Regions from separate parts of the Homo sapiens genome. Here region 2 is linked to region 1. The links are contacts of gene promoters, found by promoter capture Hi-C in human tissues and cell types (Jung and others, 2019). All regions are on one chromosome and are shown on one strand. The core of a region is centred on a gene start or on the middle of the fragment in contact, and the rest is flanking DNA. Distances in the headings are between cores, read along the strand shown. Region 1 holds the start of OXTR (oxytocin receptor). Region 2 overlaps LMCD1-AS1 (LMCD1 antisense RNA 1).

What was found. Contacts are between HindIII fragments. The study calls those that stand out against the background at their distance.
Region 2: a fragment that was not itself captured here is called in contact with the fragment with the promoter of OXTR in region 1 in 1 of the 25 tissues and cell types used here (small bowel).

Annotation. Positions count from the first base shown.
Region 1 is chr3:8,768,363-8,775,014 of GRCh38, forward strand. It overlaps OXTR (oxytocin receptor), which reads right to left and starts at 1,251. Exons shown (of 4, transcript NM_000916.4): 1 at 869-1,251; 2 at 134-229. RefSeq lists enhancers at 47-718, 1,366-1,415. The HindIII fragment of the contact is 11,538 bases long and covers 1-6,652 here.
Region 2 is chr3:8,448,599-8,455,519 of GRCh38, forward strand. All of the region lies in intron 3 of LMCD1-AS1 (LMCD1 antisense RNA 1), which reads right to left. Among named protein-coding and RNA genes, the nearest start is that of LMCD1-AS1, 50 kb to the right of the region's middle. The HindIII fragment of the contact is 5,954 bases long and covers 1-5,673 here.

The sequences.
Region 1 (6,652 bases), core at 1-2,500:
CCGCGTTTCTCTTCCGACGCGGGTAGGGCGTGCTTGTCCCATTCCCAGGAACCCAACTCATCTGAAACAACAGGGCACAACCGCCGGCCTCGGGTTGCTCAGCCGCCACCCCAGAAATCCCCGTTGGAGGTACCTCCTCTGAGCCACTGCAAATGAGCGGGAATCCTCTACCGGCCACAAGCCCAGAGCCCCCAGCGTGCCAGTTCCTCGGGATGTTCAGCGGCTTCCACTGGGGGAGAAGGGAGGGTCAAAATCAGCAACGTTCCTCCGGGAGTGGGAATCTAAAACCAAATCACCTCCCCGAGGGAATCTCCAAACTACCTACTCGCCCCAGGCTCCGACCCTCAGCATATCCACCTGCCGCGGGACCCCCAAACCAGCCCCTCTCCTAGTAAACATTAATTCAAGTACTTCCTCCGGAAATCCCCAAATAGCCACTTGCCTGGGAAACCCCAGCTCTGGTCCTTCCCCGTCTAACCCCCTTTTCTAAGACGGTCGGCCGTCACTCCCTGAACTTCCACAGCACCTGCTTCGGTGGAAACCCGGTTCTGCAGTCCCTGCTGGGGGAACCCCTGCCTCAAAGCCCAAGATGCCCAAGCGCTGTTCCCAGACCCTGGCATAGACACCTCCCGCGGGGCTCCTCCCCAGCCCGGCAGCCTCGAAAGTTCTGGAACCCCTGACTTGCGCTTTGGACCCAGATAATCAAGGACTCTGAGTCTCAATCCCGAGAAGTCACTTTACAATCTCTCGGAACACCCCGAGCTCCTCCAGGAACAAGGAGTGCGAGGCACCCCACCACCTCCACTCGGGTCCCGATGGCTCCACCGGCCCTAGCCATCCCGTCCACCCCTGCTTAGCACCCAGCTACCTGCACCGAGTCCGCAGGCGAACCTAAAGTTGACTCCCCCCGGGGAAGTTGCACGGCGACTGACGGCCCCAGTGACGCGTGCGCTCCCGGCCCGAGTTGGGATGGCCTGCCGGCTGCACCTAATGTGATGCTAAGCTGAGGTCTCTCACTGGAGCCTCGGTTGGAATCCCCTCGCCGCAGCCTGGCTGGTCGCTGGATGGGTACAGGAGGCGAGCGAGGAGCGCCTCCCAGGCTGCGCGCGCGGACAGCGTCTGGATGCGGCGCTGTGCGCTGGGGCTGAGGCTGCACTATCGCACGGGTCCGCTAGGGGGCGGGCGAGGCCAGCCGCGCAGACCCCTCCGGAGCGGAGCTGGTTCGCCCAGCGTTGGTCCCAGAGCCTTAACAAATGGGTTTATTTTGCAGTGGTTTAAAACTGCGAGAGGGAGGGAACTCGTCAATAACCCGCCCGTTTCTTCCTTTCTTGGTTTAGAAGCTCTTGACTCCGAGACACATAGGAGGCTTGAATAATAATGTTCTTCCCCGGGTAGATAGTGATGAAGTTACAAAAGCATTTAAACTGATTATTTCCCAAAAATGATGTTAATTTTCAGGCTTTTCTCTCCCCCCACACCTCCAGCTTGATGTAGCGGCTTTAGCAGTGAACTCAAATAAGTCTTTGCTTTGGAATACTTTTGTTCCTATTCCCGTTAATGAGGAATTAGAAATGGCCTCTATTCTAAGCAGTGCTGGGAGAGGCGTTATTTTTTCGGTAGTTTTAGAGGAAATTCTGAAGCACAACACTGTCTTCATTTAAAGTGATTCTGCTTGTCTGCGCCCAAGAGCCGTTTCTGCCTCCTTGTCGCGCTTCGGAATTAAAATTCTAAATGATGCCAAAGGAAGATAAAATGTTAAAGACAGCTTCTCAGCCTCCCTGCCCCTTCTCTATTCTAAAATCATTTTTTGAAGTAATTTACAGTGGCCAAGAATTAAGTCAGAAAAAAAGGCCAGGATTCAAAAATAAACAGGGCTCTTTAAAATGCATTAAATGTGTATTTCCTCCTGACATTTCACTTCTCCGTCTTTTTATTATGTGGAGAGACTTGAGTTAGCCAAGGACTGGGTTTCCTTAATCCACAATTACAGCCCCATGCCGAGATATCCCAGGGGCCAACCTTACAGCACCTGGATCCCAGGGTTCTAGCTGAGTAATCATTCCAGAATGGGGCTGGGAATCTTGACAGCATTGCCAAGGGGTGGCAGGCAGTATTAATCAATATTAGTCAATAGTACCTATCGGCCTCGAAAATTACAGATTAAAGTTACAGACGACTCAGGTGAGAATGAAGTGACCTTGGGCAAGCCCCTTCTCTTTGGGCCTCAGTCTCCTCATATGTAAAATGAGAGCACTGGTCAAGATAGCTAATGTCTGAGGTCCTGTCCCTCTGGTTTTCTGAAACTGTATAATCTGTGCAATCTGAGGGTTCAATCCTAGCAGGTAAAACACCCCTGCCTCACTCCACGGCTGGATGAAGGCAGATTTTTCCCTATGAGCCCCTGACCGGTGAATGTGAGAAGGAAAACACTGGCCTGTAGAACCAAGCCTGCCCTTCTTTCTCCTGGAAGACAGCTGCTTTCTAGGGAGCAAGTTTACTGAGCCACTTCACCAAGGACAGACTCTTCTACCCTTTGTAGGGAAGCCTGCCTACCTGTGTGGTCCTCGCGTAGCCCGTGAGACAGCCTAATTCTGGATTCACCTAACAGGGCTATTTAGTCTCATGCAAAAGGTAAATTCTCTAACTTAGTTTTAATCTAAACAACAACAATAACAACAACAGTAATAGTGTGATCCCCATTTCCTGTCTTTTGTTTTATTTCTCATTGTGTGCAGAAACCAGGCAGGAAATAGAGAGGTCCCCTTGAAAACTCCTAACAATGAATAAGACATGCTCCTTCACCTTTGAGCTTCGGCCAGGGAGAAAAACACATATTAGATTGGTGCAAAAGTAATTGTGGTTTTTGCTATTAAAAATAATGGCAAAAACTGCAATTACTTTTGCATCAACCTAATATTTGCAGTGTGACAACAATAAATGATGTTACAGAAGTGAGGACTGCTGGGGGCTGAGGTAATACTTGGGAGATCGTTTTACAAAGAGGTAGCTGGATTTCAGAGCTCCAGAATGAGTTCTCCAGGAAGCAAAGAAAAAAGGCATACTTCTCAGAGAGTGGTGCAGGGGAATCACTTTGGCGTTTTGGAGGAAGGACTAAAGATGAATTGCTTGGTGCCTAGCACATTGCCAGCACTTAATACATACAGTTGGCCCTCTATATCCCTGTATCTGTGAGTTCAGTGGATTCAAACAATCATGGATTGAAAATATTCAGGAAAAAAAATCCTCAAAGTTCCAAAAAGCAAAAATTGAATTTGTCATGTGCCACCTACAACACTGAATGCACACAAATGCAGTGACGAGTGACATTGCATTAGGTGTTACAAGTAATCTTGAGATGACTTAAAGTATGTGAGAGGATATGCACGTGTTATATGCAAATACTGCTTCATTTTATATCAGGGATTTGTGTACCTTGAAGGCTCCCGGAACCAATCCCCCATGGATACCAAGAGATAACTGTACTTATTGATGCTAAAGGAACTTCAAGGCCATGTAAAGGAGAATGGGTTTTATTCTGTAACCCAACATTCCCCAAAATATGGGATGGAATACTTTCTGATAGTGTTAAATGTGAATTTAATATTGAGTGATACTGAATAACAGGGAGGAAATTCAGTTCTCAGTTCTGCTTACTTTTGACGTCAGCAAAGAGAAAGTCTGATATAACAAAAATCATGAAGGTGCTAGTGTAAAGATGACTGAGGTTAGAAGGCATTGGTGGGGAAGGTGGGGTGCCTGGAAGGACTGCAAGCAAAACAACGTACTCAAATCTGTGCTTGGTGAGAGAATGCTGGTAGCCACAGGGAAGATGGGAAAGGAGATACTGGCATTATGAAGGCCTTGGAGATCCAGGCAAGAGATGCTGTAGGCATGGACAAAAGATGTGACATTACAGGGTGTCTTTCGGTCTTCCAAAGAAACAGAACCATTGGGATGTATATATGTAGAGAAAGAGATTCATTTAAGGAATTGGTTCATGTGTTATGGAGGCTGGCAAGTCCAAAATCTTCAGAGTGAGCTGACAGGCTGGAGACCCAGGGAAGAGCTGATTTTGCAGGTCAAGTCCAAAGGTCCTCTGCTGCGGAATTCCTTCTTGCTCAGGGAGGTCAGTCTTTTGTTCCATATAGACCTTCAACTGATTGGATAAGCCCACCAACGTTATGGTGGGTGATCTACTTTGTTCCAGATGTTAATCTCATCCAAAAATACCCTCACAGAAACATCCCGAATAATATTTGACCAAATATCTGGGCACCATGGCCCAGCCAAGCTGACACACAAAATGAACCATCACAGACAGAGATTCAGCAATCCCTGATTTACAAATGTCTTCATCTGTCTGAGTATCCGGGCATCTTTTTTTTTTTTTTATTTTAAGTTCTGGAGTTCATGTGCAGTATGTGCAGGTTTGTTACATAGGTAAATGTGTGCCATGGTGGTTTGCTGCACCTATCAACCCATCACCTAGGTATTAAGCTTAGCACATATTAGCTATTTTTCCTGATGCTCTCCCTCCCTCTGCCCCCGTGACAGGCCCCAGTGTGTATTGTTCCCCTCCCTGTGTCTGTGTTCTCATCATTCAGCTCCCACTTATAAGTCAGAACATGTGGTGTTTGGTTTTCTGTTCCTGTATTAGTTTGCTGAGGTTAATGGCTTCCAGCTCCATCCATCCTGCAAAGGACATGATCTTGTTCCTTTTTATGGCTGCATAGTATTCCATGGCATATATATCTATATATATCTATATATATATATATCTATATATATCTATATATATATAATCTATATATATCTATATATATATAATCTATATATATCTATATATATATAATCTATATATATCTATATCTATATAATCTATATATATCTATATAATCTATATATATATAATCTATATATATCTATATCTATATAATCTATATATATCTATATATAGATTATATAGATATAGATATATATATATATATCTCACATTTTTTTCTTTATCCAGTCTATCATTGATGGGCATTTGGGTTGATTTCATGTCTTTGCTATAGTGAATAGTGCTGCAGTGAACATACATGTGCAGGTATCTTTACAATAGAATGATTTATATTCCTTTGGGTATATACCCAGTAATGAGATTGCTGGGTAAAATGGTCTTTCTGGTTCTAGGTCTTTGAGGAATTGCCACTCCATCTTCCACAATGGTTGAACTAATTTGCATTACCACCAATAGTGTAAAAACATTCCTATTTCTCCAGATCCTTTACAGCATCAGTTGTTTCTTGACTTCTTAATAATCACCATTCTGACTGGCATGAGATGGTATCTTATTGTGGTTTTTATTTGCATTTCTCTAATGATCAGTGATGTTGACCTTTCTTTCATACGTTTGTTGGCCACATAAATGTCTTCTTTTGAGAAGTGTCTGTTCACGTCCTTTGCCCACTTTTTAATGGGGTTGTTTTTTTCTTGTATCCAAGCATCTTAAAGGTGGGGCCAATATTGTCTATACCTGTACTTCGAAAGGCCTAGGTCACTATAGAATAGGCACCTTTCAGGTATTTGTTAAATACAGAAGGATAAAAGGAAGGGGGAAAGGAGGGAAGAAATAAACATCTCCATGGGCAGAACCAGGCCCTCTGGGGAAGGTATCCTGCCCAGAGAATGACCTGTCCTGTACCCACTTCTGCCTCTGGGAACTGGGTCTGAGTTTTAGCATCTTGGGAATTTTCCAGCCCTGGCACATTTATTTCAACATGGATCCAAGCCCAAGCGGCCTTTGCTCTATTGTCAGAGTGGAAATGAGCTATAAACACATCCAACCTACCCCCTCCCTAACATCACCGCCTCCCCAGCCTGCCCCCAAATAACTTCTCAGCCTCTGCTTGGGCTCCTAGCTCCAGGAGGGGGGTCAGTGACATGCTCTCAGGCATAAAGGCTGAGAACACATTGTAGCAATCAGCCTGCTGCTGGCACACTTGATCTTCTTACATTTATAGCTCTGTGCGGATGCAGGCACATCAGGGCACATGGGCTGACCTGGGAAGTTCCTGAGGCCGTGCCAGGATGCTGTGTCAGGAGGCCACTGCTTATAGGTAGAACTTGCACGGATTCCTTCTAGCCTGTGTGATTTTGGACTTCCCAGCCTTTGTTTTCATTCCTGTGTTCCATGCAGGGTGGAGAAAGAGAGAAAAATGTGCTTTCCTATTGGAGAGAGCTCTGAATCTGCAGCAGTAAGTGCTTGCTAGCATCTGGATTTTACCACGTTTTGTCAGCGTGGCTAAGGTACTGAACTTCTCTGAGACTTGGTTTCCCCAGGTGCTGATCACATGAGGCTGTGTGTATAAACCAAACTTAATGCACATGAAGAGTGCTTCACAAACAGCAGAGAACTATACAATCAAATCTTTATTCCCATGCTGACAATCCTGACCCCAGGACCACTCCATGAAAATAGTGTCTGATCCAATCAACCTCCATCTTATTAGTCTTTCTGGATGGAGTTCATAATATTTTCAATTTAATCAGACAAACTGCATCTTGGAAGGTAGGGGGAATGTCACTGTGCCAGGCAAGGAAAGTAACTCCTTTGAACCCTAACTGGTGAGATGGGGATACTGACTCTTTACCTTTCAGGGAGGCCTTT
Region 2 (6,921 bases), core at 1,447-3,946, 320 kb before region 1:
GCACATGTATACATATGTAACTAACCTGCACATTGTGCACATGTACCCTAAAACTTAAAGTATCATAATAATAAAAAATAATAATAATAAAAAAATTAAAGAAAAAATACAGAAAAAAAAAGTGTAAATTCTGCTTTGCTATGTCGCCACTTAAAACACTGAACAGACCAAACAAAAAGGCAAATGAAACACTTCCACGGGCTGTGACAGCCCTCATCCAAGCCACCAGTTTATGATTCTTATGTAAAGTGCCCCTCCTTCATTTTAAATTTAACTAAGTATCTCAGTTCATGACCCTTTCCAATCCAGAGAAGCAAAGATGAACAAAACAAAGTAAACATAATCAAGCACTGAACGAGTGTCTGTTATTTGCCTGGGCCTGGTCCATCTGCTAAACCCAAAGATTAGAAGTGGCAAAACAGTAGAATCAGGTATTGCCACAGCTGTGATGCCTGACAGAATAGTATCAGCCTCACAGGAGCAACAATTAACTAAAAATTTTTTGTACATGTATACCCTATTTATTTCTCCGAAGAGCTTTGGGGGATCCTACAATAAGGAGTATAATAAGATTAATAGGAATAGAAAATTCAGGAAAAGGAAAAAGTGAGAAAGGAAATATGAAGCATAATAGTAGAGATGACTTAGAATCTATGAGTAGCATCAAATTTGACTATGAGCTTCCTAGCAGCCAGGGGGAAAAAAGGAGATACTATGTAATTATTAGTATTAGGACTATGATTCTTAAATCCTTAAAAAAGAAAATATTTTAAAAATGGCAAATTCCCAAAGAACATTCTCAAATGGCTAAAATGACTCCTAATGATTTAAACATAAGGATTTGATAAGTTTTTCTGAAAACTGCCAGCCTACTATTAATGCTTTTCGCTAATGTTTTGCAGTAGGAAAGCCCCACGCCAACTCAGAAAGCTACATACATGCTGTAACTAAGAGAAAATGACATATTAGGAGTTTAATGGGAAGGACTTGGAGGGCTCACACATTCAGCTGCACACATCCCTGGTAGGGCCATCATCAACATCAAAATAGTCCATACTATACATCTCTGGGAGTGGAATAATTCCAGTGTTAGATAGCTTTCCAGGGAAAGAAAATGGATACAGCCCAAGTCCAAAAACCATTAACAACTCCTTTTTTGGGGAGGAAGAACTGTATCTAGACATGGAAAAGATAAATCCCTGGGGAAAAAAAATCCAGTTATACGTCTCCTGTAAGATGATGTATCCTGAAGCAATAGACTCTTCTGTCACCAAGCGTATTAGTCTGTTCCCATGATGCTAATAAAGACATACCCAAGACTGGGTAATTTATAAAGAAAAGAGGTTTAATTGACTCACAGTTCCACATGGCTGGGGAGGCCTCACAATCATGGTGGAAGGCAAGGGAGGAGCAAAGTCACATCTTACATGGTGGCAGACAAGGGAGCTTGTGTAGGGGAACTTCCCTTTATAAAACCATCAGATCTCATGAGACTTATTCACTATCATGAGAATAGCATGGGAAAGACCTGCCCCCATTATTCAATGACCTCCCACTGAGTCCCTCCCATGACACGTGGGAATTATGGGAGCTACAGTTCAAGATGAGATTTGGGTGGGGACACAGACAAACCATATCACCAAGGCTTGGTGAAGTAGCAAAGAAAGAGGCTTTCTTCAAGAGGAGATTGCTGACTGTCTTAGTTAACAAATCCAGCATACCCTGCGGTGCCAGGAAAAATGTAAAGCAAATGTATGTGAAGGTGAGAAATAGAAAGTGGAAGATTAGAAAAAAGGAGAAGTGATTGTGGTCAAACTAATTTCTCCATTCCATTCAATGTCTATAGATACCTATATGTTCTGAGATTAGAGTTATCAAGTCATAAGATGTAACAGATTAATCATTGTGTTCATTAAGAATTTTTTGTAGTAGGCAACCAGAAATTGACTCAAGTTAAGCATAGAAAGAATTTGTTGAAAGGTATTGGAGTGACATATAATAGAATCAAAGGAAAACTAAAAGGAAAAGAAAGCCTCAAGAATCCAGAAACCAGAGCATCTGTGAGCATCTACATAGCAAGAACTCCTGCCCAGTCACTTTAGGATATCCCTCAGCTCAAGAGTTAAATTCCAAGGAGGGAGAGCCTGATTATTCCAGCTTGGGTCACAAGTCCATTCTCTGGCATTTCATCTTAACCAATGGTTATGAATCAGCAGTCATTTTGCTCCTTAGGAGACACTTGGCATTGTCTGAGGACATTGTTGGTTGTCACAACCAGGGGGCATCAGTGGATTTCACAACCAAGGATGCTGCTAAATATCCTACAGCTCACAAGGCATCCCCCTGCAACAAAGAATCCACCCCAAATGTCAGTAGTGTCAAAGTTGGGAACCCCTGATCCTGACTGATGAGTCCAAAAGGAACACAAAAGAGGCATTTCCTCAATGGAAAACTGAGGTATGCAGTGGTCACATCTTCTGCCCACTCCACCCAGATTCCCTGGAATCCCTTTGACCATTTCTCTTCCCCTCCCACAGCTTTGTCTCTACCAGTAACTAACACCAATGTTCTTCAAAGAATAGTCCTGGGCTGCTGGAGCCATTGGCAAGCTCAGAGAGCTGAGAATGCCTGGGTGTTTATACCCACATGGGAGACCCATGGTGGGGGAACAGGAAAACTCAGCCCTTTTGCCTCAAGTCAGGTGTCATTCACACTCCGGAGCTCCCATAGGATGGGGCTGAGGCTGGGACTGCTTAAATGGCACCCTTGCTCAGCATCTCCCTCGCCTCAGCCCTACTTCCTCACTGCCTTACCAGTTTCTTCCAGGAACACTCTCTTAATAACTCATTTGTACCCAAATCCCCACTCAGGATGTGCTTTGGGGGAACCCGGCCTAAGATAAGGTGCTATTGCCAAAAAAAAAGTGGGAGGATTGCTGTATAGTCAAAAACAATAGCAAACCACTATAATCATATGAACTCTCCTGCCTGGGTTTCCTGTTCTCCCCTCACTATATAAAAAGGTGAAAGATAGAAGTCATGCTCTTATTTAGATGCAGCGACCAGGAAATGCTCCAGCAATCTCGTATCCAGAATTAGACCTCCACAAGCCGAACCAGAGACATAAGGCTCCAAGACAGAATCAAACAAGTTGATGCTTTCTGATTATTAATAACAGGTTGACTCTTTCTAATCACTGATGACACAAACAGCAAAATCACTTCCAGCACTGAGCATCAGACTTCATCTCTGTGGATGGCTGGAGAGGCAGCCACCTCATCCAGGCAGGAAGAAAAGATTATTCATAGAGGAAGAATTATGATGCGTAGTCACAAAAATGAGATGGAGAACGGCACAAGAGAACCCGAAGTATCAACCCCTGGGGAGTTGAATTGCTAGTTCCTTGTGAAAATTCAAGCAGCTGAAATGCAAGGTTTAGATGAATGCCTTATGAATGAAATATAAGAGATTACTAGTCTGCAGATAAGAAAATTAGACGTTTGCAAGCGGCACAGAAGAGCAAAGGAAGTAAGCAATCTTTACAGATCGGCAAACAAAGTCCTTCAAGTGGATTGAAATCAAACAAAGGATATTAAAAGACACCTAAAATAGGGGCAGAAAACTGACCTCAACTCTGTTGCCTGTCAGGTAATGCCATTAGGGGTTTTAAGTAAGATTGAGGATGCACTCTTCTAAGGCTATGGAACTGTCCAACACAGTAGCCACTGGCCCCAGTGAGATGTCTAAATTTAAATTGTTTGAAATAAAACAAAATCCATAATTCAGTTGTTCTATTCCCAGCTCAGTGACTTATTTCGGCCGGTCTTATCCATCTGTGGACCTCAAAATCCCAAGTGGTAAAGAAGGGGCTGACAGAAGGTCTGCAAGATCTCTTCCAGCTCGGGGGTGTTCTTGATTCTGTGGCCAGTCTTGGAAAACCGCTCAGAAGGAATCATCTTAAAATGATCAATAAAGCTTGCATACCTAAAAATTCAAAATGCGTGTGTCCCAGTAGACCAAGAACTCTACTTCCCAGATCCTCCTTCAGGAAAGGATTTGCTACCTCTAGCTCTTGGCTTTTTGGGCTCTGCCTCGGATGCAGAGAGCCATTCCACACAAGGTCATGGCCTCCTGGGAGCAGCCTATATCCAGTGACTGAACAAGGTGGGGGTATAAAGGCCTGGCCATTCTGTACCACAGGAGAAAGCTCTAACAGGCAGTACCAGTTCCTAAGCCCTCCACTGGGTTGAAGGTCTTTGTGGGGCATGCATAACAGTTCAGCTTCTCCTCTGCCCAGCCCTTCTTCTTCCCCACGCTTTCATTGGTGTTGATCACTAACAAACGTTCAGGGTCTGCTTCCAGAAAACCCAATCTGTATCAGTGTGGTCAACGGGAGGTGGCTTGGCAAGGCTGAGCAAATAGAATAAAAGGATTCTGTGGAGAATTGATGATATAACAACAATTAATAGCAATTGTAATAGTGAACAATTATATGATACTAACAATATCCAGGCGCTCTTCGTGTACTTTACACATGTTAACTCTAATGCTCATCCAACCCAATAAATTAAGTGCCATCATTATAAACAGGAAACCAAGGTACGCCGAGGCCAAACAATGGGCCTACAGTCCCACAGCTAGGATACAACACAGCAGGACCCAAATCCCGGCAGGCTGGCTCTGTGGTACTCCCTCTCCTTCTCAATGTGTCAGTGGCGACCCAGAGCTGTTCACAGTCTGACTGGAACCCAAAGGTCACTGCTGCCCCCACACCCTGAGGCTCTTTGCTCCACTCTGGTCTGGCTTTACAGAAGGGGAGGCGGAGACAGACCTGGAAGAAGGTCTCTAATCATGTTCCACACTCTCAGGGCTGGAAGAAATTGCTCCAGTAGGCCCCATCCAGACCTCCACTTAGGTTTTTGTTCCTCTTCTCCCATCATCACAAAGCATAAACAGAGAATGCCTGGCGTGTCAGCTCTCTCTCTCTCTCTGTCTCTCATTCACATACACACACATCCATAATACACACACACATCAATAATACACACACACAGAGGATGTGAAGGGGGACTCTCTCTGACTTAGCACTTAAAATGTGCTGGGCCTTGTACTAAGAGATTTTCATATATTAAGTTATTTAGCCCTCACAAGAGATGTGGAAGCTGAGACTGAGAGAGGTTAAGCCACTTTCCCAAGGCCATAAAGATGGTACTGTCAGAGCAGGATTTCCACCTGAGCAGACTCCAGTGTCTGCTCTTGATCTCTGCTGACTCCAAGGCATCAAGGACCCCACCAGCACCTATGGAGATGCAGCCATCCCTGGCCAGCAGCCCCAGCTCCAGCCCCAGCACACCACCACCAGGGCAGGAGACTAAGGGGGTGTTGGACAAGAAGGAAGGAAAGAGGGAGGAAGATGGGGAGAGGGAAAGGAAGAAGACAAGGAGGGAAAGACAGAGACAGAGAGATGGTTGGAGTAGTTAGTCAGTGGTGCCTACGAGTAAGGGAACTACATCATCTGGTCATCCAGTCTGATATTTGCCTAGGCAATGGCTGAGATACTCCTTCCTTTTGCAGGGAGGAGAGAGAACCAAAGAGACAAATGGTTGCAGAGGGCTGGGAAGGGGGACAAGGACAAGTGAGTTTCCCACTGGTTAGAAGCATGCCAGTATCTAGTGTAAGCACTTGGCCTGTATTGACTCATGTAGTCCTCACAACAACTGGATGAAATAAGCAATCTATAATCTCCATTTTGCTGGTGAGAAAAGTGAGGTATTTGCCTACAATCATACAGCCAGTAAGTATACCCTTGAGCCTCATATTTATTTAGTCAATTGTTTTCAGTTTCCATGATCATGAATTACTATTGTAATACATAGTCCTGCAATGCTAGATTATGGAGGAATGAAAAGAACATGAGTCTATGAGTTAGGGGACCTGATTTCTGGTCCCACTTCTAACTCTTGCAAATTCTGATCTTGTGTGGGTTCTTTATCCCACTCAAAAAATGAGCTGATTGGATTAACTCAGGTGGTAGTGGTAGTAGAAGCCCCGGAAGTACCAGTAGTAGTAATAATCGAAGTAGTAGCTGTAATAGAAGAAACAATAGTAACAGAAAAGAAGTAATAACAGAAGTAGTAGCAGTTGAGTAGCAGTAGTAATAGAAGTAGTGGCAGGAGGAGGATTAGCAACATTAATATAAATAGCAGTAGAAGTTACTGTAGTAGTAGAAGAAGAAGAGAAAGAGGAGGAGAAGAAAAAAAGGAAGAGGAGGAAAAGAAAAAGAAGAAGATATAGTAGTAACAGTAGTGGTAGAAGAAGTAGAACTTATAGAAGAAATCACAGTAGTAATTGTGGTAGTCGCAGTAATAGACATAGTTGTAGTAGCAGCAGTGAAAACAGAATTAGTAGTAAAAGAAACGAAAGTAGTTAATAGATGAAGTTGTAATACTAGAAGTAGTAATAATAGTGATAGAAGAAGTCGTAATAGTATTAAAGGAAGTAGTTTTTAAAGAAGAAGAGGAGGACAAAGAGGTGGAGGAGGACTGAGAAAAAAACACCAACATCTGTGAAGACCTGTGATGTGCCAGATGCTGTGGAAAATGTGTTTTGTATACTCAGTCCTCACATCTCTCTTGTTAGCCAGCTACCTTCCATAATGCTCATTTCATAGATGGGCAAACTGAGATTCAGAGATGTCAACCTATGCAAAGGGGAGGTAGAGTCCAGACCTTGTCTTCCCACCACCCTGGCTGCCTCTCCAAGGCCACCCACACCATGCTCCACAGGGAGCAGCTGTGTTCTTTCAACTTTTACAATGCCCATTCCAAAAGTCTTGCTACACAAAATGATTTGACCCCCTTGTCCTCAGAATTAGAAGGAAACTCAGAATTAACTTCCCTCGGATAAAATCCTTTGTAAATAT